Regions from separate parts of the Homo sapiens genome. Here region 2 is linked to region 1. Evidence: promoter capture Hi-C in 16 types of primary human blood cells and fetal thymus (Javierre and others, 2016). All regions are on one chromosome and are shown on one strand. Each heading gives the region's core, a stretch centred on a gene start or on the middle of the fragment in contact. The rest is flanking DNA. Distances are from core to core; before and after follow the strand shown.

Region 1 (5,786 bases), core at 180-2,679:
AATTTGAAAATCGTATTTTCTGTTTCATAATATTTGCAGTGCATGGTTGAAGGGAAGAAGGCCACGTGCTATTGCCAGTTGGTCTCCAGGAGGTGACATCCATCATCTCCATGTCAACTTGTGAGCTTTACAAATCTAATTTTCAGTACGTGGCTACAGTATACACAAGAAAATATGTGCTTTGCCACTTGGCTCTAAAGGCTCACCGTTGTACACAAGCAATGAGTTTAGGGGTTCTTCCCTCTTGTTATCACATGTCATCTCCACAGGGTTTCAAAAGATCTGGATAGGGTGAGACAGACACACCAGTGTAGTACTCCCTTGGGTCCCTTGTCTTTGGCTTAGGCTTTTTCATAAGGTATAATAATTTGTTAGAGGTTCTTCCCTCTTGCAGACACATGTCATCTCCACAGGGATTCAAAAGATCTGGATAGGGTGAGACGGACACACCAGTGTACTATTCCCTTGGGACCCAAGTCTCTGGCTTAGGCTTTTTCATAAGGTGATTTCTTGTGGTAGTAGTCAAGTGGAGAATACTCAGGAAATACTATTTCATGTAACATTTCCGTGTATTCCCTCTGCCTCCCCCGACATGAGTTAGAAAACTACCCCTCGATCTAGTATCAGCAAGCTCGACAGTGACCTCAGCAAGGAACAGCCCTAGATAAAAGGATTCATAAGTAAATGGAATGAGGAAAAGATCTGGAGCAACAAAGTCCTGGTCAGCTTTAGGTGAGGAAGCACAATGGGATGTTGGAGGCTAAAGAAGCCATGAAACCTAAAGTATTATAACATAGCATATTCACTTCTCTTTCCCCCGCACGCCCAAAGCTCTGTTCAAGGCCACCCTTTCCCCTTTCATGATGACCAGGTTGCCCAGTGCAAAAATACTGTTCTTAGCTATTAAATTGCATTACTCAGAATAATCCTTTCCACGTTGAGTCTACGTGCCGGACTGGCTGCGAGCAGAAACTACTTCAGTCGCTTTAAATCTCAACACTTGTGGTCGCTGGGAGCAGAGCTTTTAGGCTGTAGCTCAGTCTTGTAATTCTGAGCTAGGAGTTTCAGCTACGGTCCCTCGGGCCTATCAGATGACAACCTTAACACCCTGGAGGCGTGGTTATCGTCTTGGGGCTCTGGGAAGTGCAGTTCCATGGGGGACCAGGCCTGATAATACCATAAAAGGCTTGGTTCTCTCAATTCTGAAGCCATGTTCTGTTGACCTTCCTCTAAAAGCGGTACCCGCAATTGTGCGGATTCCGTGGTTCCCTAGTCCCAAGCCGTCTGCTTCCTGGGCCCTTTCATTGGCTCCGCCCCCGTAAACCTTGCTCGTCCACTCTGGAAGCGCTCTCCTGACTACAGGCCGCGCCCCTCGCGTCGGCTCCGCCCACCCAGCCCGCGGCTTGGCCCAGGCGGTAGTTCGCGTTTTGAGCCGATCGTGCCACCATAGCTCCTGCTGCTGCCTCTACCGCTGCGGCTACCGCGGCGGAGCTGAAATTGCCGAACGCGATGCCCGAGGGCGCTGTGAGCGGGGTGGCCTTAGCTCGCCGAGGCTGGTGAGGCTGGGCCCGAACGGGGGCGCTGACGAGTAGCAGGGGCCTCAGAGGCGGGTGAAAGATAAAGGTCCAGAGCCGCTGTGGAGGGCGGAGAGCGAGCTCTGGAGGATAGGGAGTGGGGGAGGGAGGCTCCCGTGGCAGAACGAGTTGTGGGCTACGGCGAGCCCCGCCGCGTCCCCGCCGGCGCTAGCGCAGGTGTCCAGGCCTGCGGAAATCCCTGGTGGTCTCGGCGGCCTCCTCCCTTGGACACTACAGTTGCCATGGGAACAGTTGGGCATTAACGGGAACCAGATCGTCCACGAGACCAACTGGGGCCCATCCCATCCATCTCGCCAGTTAAACGCCTCTGGCGGGCGTGGGCCTGGCATTTCTTCGTGGCTTAGGATTTTCCCCCCCTTTTTCGTGAGCCTTTCCTTCCGACGTTGTAAGAAACTGTGCAGGGCTAGAAGGTGGGGATGAGGGAAATGGTGAGAGCAATACCCAGAGGTAAAAGCTGCAGACTTCGCTAGGCAGAAGGTAAGACACTGTGATACTAAGGTGGCTTCTGCCATCTCAGGTCAGTGAGAGGGCATACTGGGAAGCCCTCTGGAGTGGGAAGACAGTGCCGCTGTTGAGACAAGACCCAGGACTGGGCCGGGGACTGTCCCAAAGGGTTTCTCGTCATAATGGCTGTGGAAGGGTCAACCATTACCAGCCGGATCAAGAATCTGTTGAGATCTCCATCCATCAAACTGCGCAGGAGTAAGGCAGGAAACCGACGAGAGGACCTCAGCTCCAAGGTGAGTCCTGTTGGGATCCACCTCTTTCCAAACCCACCCTCTCCTGCTCCATGTTCCTCGTTAACCTTCCTGTTTCTTGGGAAAGATAACTAGAAGCCCTTGTTGACTCTAAAGGATCACATATGATCTCTGCAGGCAATGATTTGGTTTTAGGTTGAAGGAAAAAGAGCAGCAGGGGTGGGCATGCTGAGATTCATCCATGAGAAAAGGTGAATAGTAGGAAGACCACCTGGGTTCAATTGTGGCCTCACTATACACTAAGCATGTGCTTGGGAAGCCAGTTGATATGCTATGACTCAGTTTCCCTTCTTGGGAGAGGACAGTAGGAACACATACCTTGTGAAGGGCTAAGCTGTGACTAATGTAGCTGCAGGTGTTAACGTAACAGCTGGGGTTATGTAAGACTGTAGTGGCAGAAAGAAATATGCTAAAACACCTAGTCAGAGTTACTGGCTTGGTAATTGCTCTTGCCTACGGTGAAAACAAATTTTTTTTGTCTCTTCAAGAGGCTAACTGGAGCCTTTTGGCTTCTTAGGAATAACATGCAAGAAGCCAGATATCTGTCAGCAAAACAGTTCTGGATGGCCCTTGAGCATTGCTTATCTCATTCACTATATGCCAAGAGCCACATCCCACTCAGCTGCAGATGATCCTCAGAGGCAAAGTTCCTTTCCATCGCTTCACTTGTCTGTGTTTTGGTCCTTATGCTTTTTCAACTAAATAAACCCCACAACTTTGGGAATCCAGAAGTAGTCGACATTTATTTAATCCCTTGAGGGAATCCAGGGCTTTACTCCCACAGGATCAGATCAGATTTTGTGTCTTATTAGTAGCCTGTAAACCCAATAGGGTTGTGAGGTACAAGGTTGTTACAGGGAGAGGCATTTGAGACCACAGCATTGTATTGCTTTGCCTGTATCTCTTCAGTGATGAGTAAATCCCATGAGGAATGATTTAGAATGCCACTGTACAAATGGCAGGGTTCTGGGAGGACTTAGTTCAGCCCTGTGTTCCTTAGCAGAACTTTGAGTAGATTTGGTAAGAAGGTGAAGAGCTTTCCTGTATATTTCAGCAGAAGTTGTGTTGAATCACAGTTTGCTACAAGGTTTTGTGATGGTGGACATTGTGACCCTTCCAAGGTCTCTTATTCATCATTGTTTCTATTCTCCTGAGGCAGGCAAAGAAGCCTGAAATGTAGAAATTGCCTTAGATATGACTCTGTTCATTCTTAATACTGCAAGTGCTCTTATTCTTGGCTGGTAGCTTGGCAGTGACCAGCACTGTTAGAGCAATCTTCTCCAATCTTTGGCCTCTTTTTCTGGCCAGGAATGATATATGTAGTAGAAACATATAATGAGAGTTTAGCCTTCATTGTTAATTCTTACTGTAATTTTGGTCTGGAATCCAGAAAGTATAGTTGCCATTCTTTAAGACTTCCAATATCATCCATTATTAATGCATTTAACAAGTGTTTATTGAGTGCCTATGAAGTGTGCAATCAGTGATGGGTAAAACATTACCCTTGCCATCAAAGAGCTTATGGCTAGTCAGACATGTAAACAATTAAAACACGGTGTGGTAAGTGCTGCTGTAGAAGTATGTGTACGTTGTTAATGGAAGCACAGGGGAGGCGACCTAAGTCAGTTCAGAGGAATTAGGAAAGGCTTCACAGGCCAGGCATGGTGGCTCACCCCTGTAATCCCAGCACTTTGGGAGGCCAAGGCGGATGGATCACTAGGTCAGGAGTTCGAAACCAGCCTGGTCAAGATGGTGAAACCTCATCTCTACTAAAAATACAAAAATTAGCCGGGCGTGGTGGTGCATGTCTGTAATCCCAGCTACTCGGGAGGCTGAGGCAGGAGACTCGCCTGAACCCGGGAGGCTGAGGTTGCAGTGAGCTCAGATCCTGCCAGTGCACTCTAGCCTGGGTAACAGAGCAAGACTCCGTCTCAAAAAAAAAAAAAAAAGGAAAGGCTTCACAGAGGAAGGGATGCTTGAACTGTGAGTCCTAAGGCAGGTGGAGAAGAGCTCTCCAGGAAAACAGTGGAAAAGGGGCATCCCTGGCAAGACCATTTACCATTCCCTGTTTAAAATAGGAATTCAGTGCTTCAGACTGCTTTAGATGGCTTTGTCTGTCCTGAAGCTGTGTATGAAAGAAATACTTAGCTGAAGTTGAATGACCCTTGAATGGTCTGGCAGCAAAATGACTGGTGCATATCTTTAGCACCCAAGAGGAGTAGCTGTCTTTGTGCGCCCAGGACCCTAGAGATGCCAGACTCCCCACACTCCTTAGTAAAAGGTCTCTACCTGAGATTATTCTAAAAGCCTGCCTTGTGATTACTCTAGTGTATTAAGCTCTGTGAGTTGCTCTAACATGTGGTGGCTGTGAGTAATCATGATAACAGGAAATTTGTGATTCATGGATAGCTAATTCTCAAATAAAATTTGAAGACAAAAAGGTACATGCCCCTTTTGGGGGGCAAAGAAGGAAATGTCAGAAAGCTTTTATGCAGCTCTTACTTCAGATGGCCTCCTGCTTTGAATTATACTGTTCTTTCTATCTAAAGTAGCCTTCTCCTTTACACCAAATTGTACACTTATTTTTAGGTCCAATTCTGTATTTATCAGAGCCACAGGGCTTTCTGTGACTAGTCCCCCACCTTGAAACCAATATCTTATTGTTATTTTATGTATGTCTTCATTTCCTAAGGATCGGGGTCATGCTCTTTATTTCCTTTACATCACACCGTTTAGGACAGTGTAAGATAGGCAGTAAGTACTAAAAAAAATAAATGAGACTAATTTAAAGATGTCAAATATAGTGCGGGATAAACTTGGACATCCAGGTGAATAAAATAATCAGGAGGAATTTATGACCTCTTTAGAAGAGAGATCAAAACTACGATTAATAAAATGGTGACAAAGAAGTAGAGATGCAGCCTAATTAGGTGTGAAGAACATAAGAGAGAAGAAGTCCACGTATGCAGAAAGCAGTGCTCAGTAAAGGGTTCTTAATTCAGGGGAGACCTAGTTAAAAATATGGCTAAAAGCTGGTGTGAGAGAGCCAGTGGAGGTGGAGATTTAAGTTACATCAAAGAGTAGATGAGTGCTGAGATTTTTATTAAGCTTTTTCAGAGGGAGGGGAGTCTCTTCAGTGGAGTACATTGGAAAAGACTGATTTAAAGTTTTATGCTAAATCAGCTTAGTCTTGGTGAAGTGTGACTTGAAGTTATCAGTAAATACCCAAGTTCAAATCCTGTAGACTTGTCATTTCCTGCCTCTCATCTCTAAGTTGGGCTGTGTTTTCCTTAAGAAGCAAATGTATGTGTTCTTGATAGCTAACCCTCCTCCTCTGAAAGTTTCTGAAAGATTTTTATGTGGAGGGAGCTGGGCTTGTTTTCAAGGACAAAGGATAGAAATGGACCAAAGCCCAGCAGGCAAGATTTAAGTT
Region 2 (5,909 bases), core at 85-2,584, 870 kb before region 1:
TTCCTCCAGAAGCAGAAGTGGGAGCAGATGTGGGGGAGGGGTCCCATTGAGTAGAGGGCATCCTAATTCTGTTCTTCGCACTGTCCCAGGAGGTTTGGAGGGCTCCTGCTTCCTTCTCCCCATGTGGCCTAGGCTCCCCTTACACCTACCATAGTCATCTGAGGGCTCAGGGTCTTTGTCCCCTGACAGTGAGTATAAAGCTTTAGCCTACCTCTGAAGGGGTCACTTTCTTAGAGAAAACAGACTGGGGCCTCTGTCTTTGCACATAATGGGTGCCTAATACTTGTTAGTTAAACAAACACTGCCCTATTGCTCCCTGCTCCCAGAGGGCTTGGCTAAAGCAGCTTGGGACACCCCTGCCCCTTCTGTCTTCTCCTAAGCCAGCCCATCTGGTCCTAGGCTGCTTCCTCTTTCCTGGGAAAAGGCCCCAGGCTTCCCTGGCAGGGACAGAATAGGGTTCCGGTGAGTCAGGGCAACGGGAAGCCACAGCTCTTAGATCCCTGGAAGCCAAGCAAGACATGGAATGGAGAGCAGAGCGGAGGCCCTCAGGGCTTTGGCCCTAAGCCTGGAGGGCCAGAGGGGGGTGGGGTGGGGGAGCAGCTGCGTGGGCAGGGGCCAAGATGAATGAGCTACTCCTGGAGCGGTCACTGGAAATAGAAGGAGTGGCCACAGGCAGTGACGCTGGGACCAGGGCAGGAGGCCTGTAAACAAGGAAGCCACCTGGGGGAGACGCAGGGCGGCCACTGGTCCTGGGGAGCAGGTGCTTCCTGAGGCCCGCCCTGGAGAGGGCCCTGGGGGCCGCCCCGCCGAGTCTGCAGTGGGCACTAGGGGGCGCCGTCTACCGGCTTCCCGAGCCCACCGCTCCCTACCCTGGCTCCTGGGGGTGTGGCCGCCGGAGGGTGTGCCGGCCCAGAGTCCCAGGCCCTGCCTGCCCGGCCTCTCCCTCCCTTCTCCTGTCACCGCGGCCGACTGGCCAAGGGCACCAGCCCTGGAGAGGGCACAGGGCTCAGCGTGGCCAGCTCGGATGTGAGCTCATTCCCCCGAGACCACCAGTTCTAGTTCCTGCCCCTCCCCCAAAGGCTCGGGTCGCAGGCTGGTGCCTGGCACCCACCCCAAAGGTTGGGAGGGGGCTCGAGGCCATCAGGCTCCAGGCCGCACTTGGCGCTGCCCCCTGGCGCCAGGGAAACAAAGGTTAGGGGCCCAGAGGGAGTTATCTGGCCCCACCGCCACCGGGTGGGGGAAGGGGACCAAGAGGGGGCGCAGTTCCCCTCCACTCCCCCAGCCCTACTGATTCTTCGAGACACTTTCACAGGCGGAAATTCCCAGAGGTCAGAGGAGGGAAACGGTTAATTCCTTTTATTCAATGGGTCCCCCCTACACGCCTCCCCCCAACTTCCTCCCTCCACTTCCCGCCCCCCCCTGTGTGAACAGGAAGTGGAGAGGAAAAGGCTCTGAGCGGAGCAGCTGGGAGCAGGAGGCAGGGAGTGGGCGGCGGGCTTGGTGCCAGCCCTGCCCCTCATGCTTACTTGCCGGAGGGCCAGGCCAACCGCGGCCTGGGAAAGAACCTGCAGCCCCGCTGGCGAGTGGCAGTTGAACCGGGAAACAGCAAACTCCATGCCCTCTTTCCTTAACCTGCTCCCAGGTTACAGGCTGCTGTCCTCAGGGTGCCAGACATCTTCTGCTCAAGAGCCAGCTGCCCTGGCCACCACAGCCCCACCTCCACCACCAGGCTGGGCATCCCGAGGCTGGCAGGCATCTCTTCAGGCAGCCGCCAGTCCTGGCACTGGCTCCCCCACTCAGCCCCTTGGCCCTGCCAGCCCTTTGAAGCTCATGCAGCGCTTCCTGTTTGGGGCGGGCGATGCCAGGGCCCCTCCCCCACCATTGTTCTGGAGAGACCATAGGTCCATCTGTTGCCCCATGGTGGGGCCCCTAGGCAGTGCCACACGGGAGCAGCACCACAAAGGACGCTGCTGGCAGCTTTGCTTATGTGGGGTGAGGCTGGGCCCTGCAGCAGGTTGAGGGTGAATGGTGGTCAGAGGCAGGCCTGGGGCGGGCACTGGGATAGGAGGATGCTAGAAAGTTCTGGTGCTTGGGCAGCTGGAGCCCTCAGCTTTCTCCTCCACCTGGAGCATGGAGATGATATTCAGGGAGCCATACGTGCTGAAGCCACCAGGAGAGGGCCACCATTCTCATGCCTGGATTCCCAAAAGGAAAACTGAGGCAGAGGGGCAAACTTTGGTCCAGGATGGCCAATAAAAGGGTCACAAAATAGGGTTGTCATTTCAAGGGGATTGGCCCCACTCTCTGAATGCCCAGTAATTGGGTGCTTTCCTCTCCCTGAGCAGCTTTACCGTGGCTCAGCTTTCACCTTGAACCAGCCCTTACTGAGCAGTCAGAAACCATACCGTGAGGTCAGGAGAGGCTGCGCGGCCTTAGTTTGGTGGCCAGCAACCCATGTCCACTGAGAATAAGCTTGGGCAGAGAAAAGGGAAAGGGGCACTGGTCTGGCCCCCCGGAAGGTGGCTGCTGCTTCTGGTTCCCAGGCTGCTGTGGCCAAAGGTCTGTTTGTGTTTGCCAGGTGCAGAGGCAGGTGGCTGCAGCTCACCTTCCCTCCATGGCATGATCTCCCAGCTCTGACCCTTGACCTGTTCCCTCGCGGCATCTCCACAGGGCTAGAAGGTGAACCCTACTTCCTTTACCAGGTCCTCTGGTTTCTCTTCCCAGGCCAGGACCTAAACCGTTCACAACTCCCAGCAGGCCAGAGCTGCAGAGACCTCAGATAGAGACTATAAAGTGCTGTGGAAGCCTTGTTCAAATAAAAACATTCATGAATGTCCAGTACTTGAAATTGGTATGCTGAGATTCTCCGATGGAAACTGGGCTGGAGGGACCCACACTCCTGTTCACTCAGCCTGTTCTCCACTCCTATCTCAATGTCTCTCTCTCTGTTTTTTTTTTTTTTTTTTAATAGAAACAACACCTTGTTCTATTGCCTAGGCTGGAGTGCAGTGGCGCCATCATAGCTCACTGCAGCCTTTAATTCCTGATCTCAAGTGATCCTCCCACCCCAGGCTCCTGAGTAGCAAGGACTACAGACACCACACCTGGCTAATTTTTATTTCTATTTTTTGTAGTGACGGGGGTCTTGCTAGGTTGCCAAGGCTGGTCTTGAACTCCTGACTTCAAGCAGTCCTCCCACCTCAGCCTCCTAGGGTGTCCGGATTACAGGCATGAGCCACTGTGCCCGGCCCCCTATCACGATATCCATAAGATGCCAGGATGCCCAGGAACCGAGTTTGAAAGACATTGTGCTGCTGATCCCACCTCCTGACTTTACAGCTGCTGAATTGCAGAAGACAAATTGGTAGCTAACAGGAGGCTCCATCCTGGATCCTGCCCCTGTCCGTGAGATTCAGCCTTGATTAACTGTGTTCCCATGCTGGTCGTGAGCAGGGCACCATCCTAGGTCCTTCTTTATACTCATTTTCCATCTCCAGCCAAAATGGGTTGAACCGAGGAACAAGGACATAATCTGTAAAGAGCAAGTGCAAGTCTCTGCTCTGCCATTACCAGCATCAGGCTAATCAAGCCCTTGGAAACTCAATTTCTTCTCCTGTAAAATGTGAATAACTGTTACAGACCTGGAAAGGCTCTTGTGAGGCTGAAATGAGAGCGGTGCCGCCCATCTGTCAAGGTAGCCCAGGGCCTGGCGCCCAAGCAGCCCTGGGCACTTGCCCCTCTTCCCTTTTACTCTGCACCTCCTTTCTGTAGGCGTAGGACCCTGAGACCTGTCCCAGCTCATCCCTCACAAGGCCCTCTGACTTCTTCAGATATCAGAGTGGAATTGGAAGAAAGAAGCTTGCTTGAGTAGGTTTTTCTGGTTTCTTGAACAATGGCGATTCTAAGGAAAAGAGGTTCAGGATGAGAATGAGAGGAAGCCCACAGGCATGTAGAATATGGCCACAGGTGGGACAAGAGTGCTTCCTTGGGATGGGGGTCCTGGTTCCCTGAAGGAAAGGAGACAGGGCACTACTCCAGCTCCAGGAGTCTCATAGGACAGGCCAAGAGGGCTGGGCAGACACCATGCTGGCCGCTGATCAGGCATGACTCCTCTGCCAGCCTGCCCTCGCAGGCCAGCCCAGAACTTGCACAACAGTCGGCCTGGCTGGCACTCTCCCGGGAGCTTCAGGAAGTCCCCCTTGTCCTCCCCTTGACCTTTGACCCCTTGGGCCTGCTGCCGACCAGAATACCAGGCAGATGTTCTCTCTTTTACCTTTTGTTCCTGGTCTTTCCCTCTAAGGCTGGAACTCAGAGATACCCCAAACCCCCAGCTTCCAGCTCATCCTTCCCCATGCTCTCAGTGCGGACCAGCTGGAGCCTCCACTGGGCCGCTCTCCATGTGAGCCAGTGTGGATCCTTGGCCACAGCCGGCAGGACGCTTGCAAGTGCCCCGACTCCAGACATCCTCCCAGGTGTCCTTCCCGACTAGCTCCCTGTCCCAGGCCCCAGCAGGTGAAGCAGGAACAGCAGACAGAGCCTCCTTCCCTCCCCGGCATCCTCTGAACAGTCAAAGTTGGAAGAACCCTAGATATTGTTCCACATTAAACTATGCACGCCTCGTGGCACTCAGTTTCACAATCAAATAACTCCCTCTGGTTTTCTAGTGGAATTTCTGCTTTTATTTTATAGGGTTTCTTGGCTTCTTTTTTTTTTTTTAAGCAATCAGTCTAAATTTGTCATCACACATCCCCCATTTCCGCCCCTAAGGGCCTCCTTTTCATCCCCTGGAATCTGGAAACCATATGTGTGGGCAGAAACCCCCCAGCATCCCCCACTGCACCCTGGCCCAGCCTGGCCTCCGCAGGGATAACCGTGTTAGCTGGGGAAGAGTCTACACTCCACACTGGGGCTAGAAAGGGAGTTTCTCTTTGGACCTTCCCAGCTGAAGCCATGGAGAAGCCGTGTGGTCTAGTGGTTAGGGCTAGAACAGATGGGTTCTGTTCCCGGCAATCTCTTTGACTAACACCAGAAGCCTGGGAAAGTCCCCTTAACACCTAAGGGACTCAGTTTCCCCACCATCTGAGGGGCTCAGAGTTTCACCAGCTAGCTCATCTCCTACCCGCCTTGGTGGAAAGAGTTTTTGATCTGGAATTTCTGCTATGTCACTTACAAGCTGTTTGACCTTGACAAATTGCTTAACCTTTCTGAACCTCAATTTCCTCATCTATAAATTAGAGACTATTATCGTACCTACCACCTGGCTATTGTTGGGATTAAATAAGAAAACATATTCTCAAGGGCCTCGCACCAGACGTACTGTGAGAACTCAAGAAGCAGGCGTTGTGATTGTTAATAATAAGTAGAAAGGCACAAAGAGGTGGGAGTGTGTTCTTAGCGAGTCTGCCCCGGGCCAGACCTGTCTGCCCCTGCCTCTCCTGCTCCGGCTGACTTGTCCCAACCTTCCCTGGGCCTCCTCTGCTCTGGAAGGCAAGGATGCGTTACCAGTCATTGTGGATCAAGGCTGAGGCCTGTCTGCTCGTCCCTGTCTCCATGACGACCCCAGCCCCTCCCCTCCTTCCTTCCTCAAGAGCTTTCTGTTTACTGTAAACAGCTGCCCCAGCTCAGCCCTAGCTGATCCCCCCCACACCCAGGGCCAGCCAGACCCTCTTTGAACCCGGCCTGGACTGGTGTGAAGGTCTGCTCACTGCTTCTCGGGCTCCACAAGGCCTCAAACAAACTCTGTGTTTCCACCTTGCCTGGCCGGGAGGGGAGAGGAGGAGGGGAGGGAACTGTTACCTCAGACCAGGGCAGCCAGGGCCTCAGAGACAAGGAACAGATGGGGCGTAATGGAGGAGGACCACACCAAGAGAGTTGGGTGGAGACATCTCTGGCTTGGCCTTAGACTGACC

Evidence for each region. The method cuts DNA at HindIII sites, captures the fragments that hold promoters and counts their contacts. A CHiCAGO score of 5 or more calls a contact.
Region 2: a contact is called between a fragment that was not itself captured here and the fragment with the promoter of MAPKBP1 in region 1, in 1 of 17 cell types (neutrophils). The highest score is 6.9, in neutrophils.

Annotation. Positions count from the first base shown.
Region 1 is chr15:41,773,055-41,778,840 of GRCh38, forward strand. MAPKBP1 (mitogen-activated protein kinase binding protein 1) reads left to right here and starts at 1,430. Exons shown (of 31, transcript NM_014994.3): 1 at 1,430-1,556; 2 at 2,113-2,335. The coding sequence starts at 2,222. RefSeq lists an enhancer at 877-926. The HindIII fragment of the contact is 7,491 bases long and covers 1-4,835 here.
Region 2 is chr15:40,905,695-40,911,603 of GRCh38, forward strand. LOC105370943 (a long non-coding RNA gene) reads left to right here and starts at 1,115. Exons shown (of 2, transcript NR_135836.1): 1 at 1,115-1,191; 2 at 3,135-3,657. RefSeq lists enhancers at 477-771, 1,961-2,090 and silencers at 477-771, 701-1,040, 1,691-1,750. The HindIII fragment of the contact is 2,272 bases long and covers 199-2,470 here.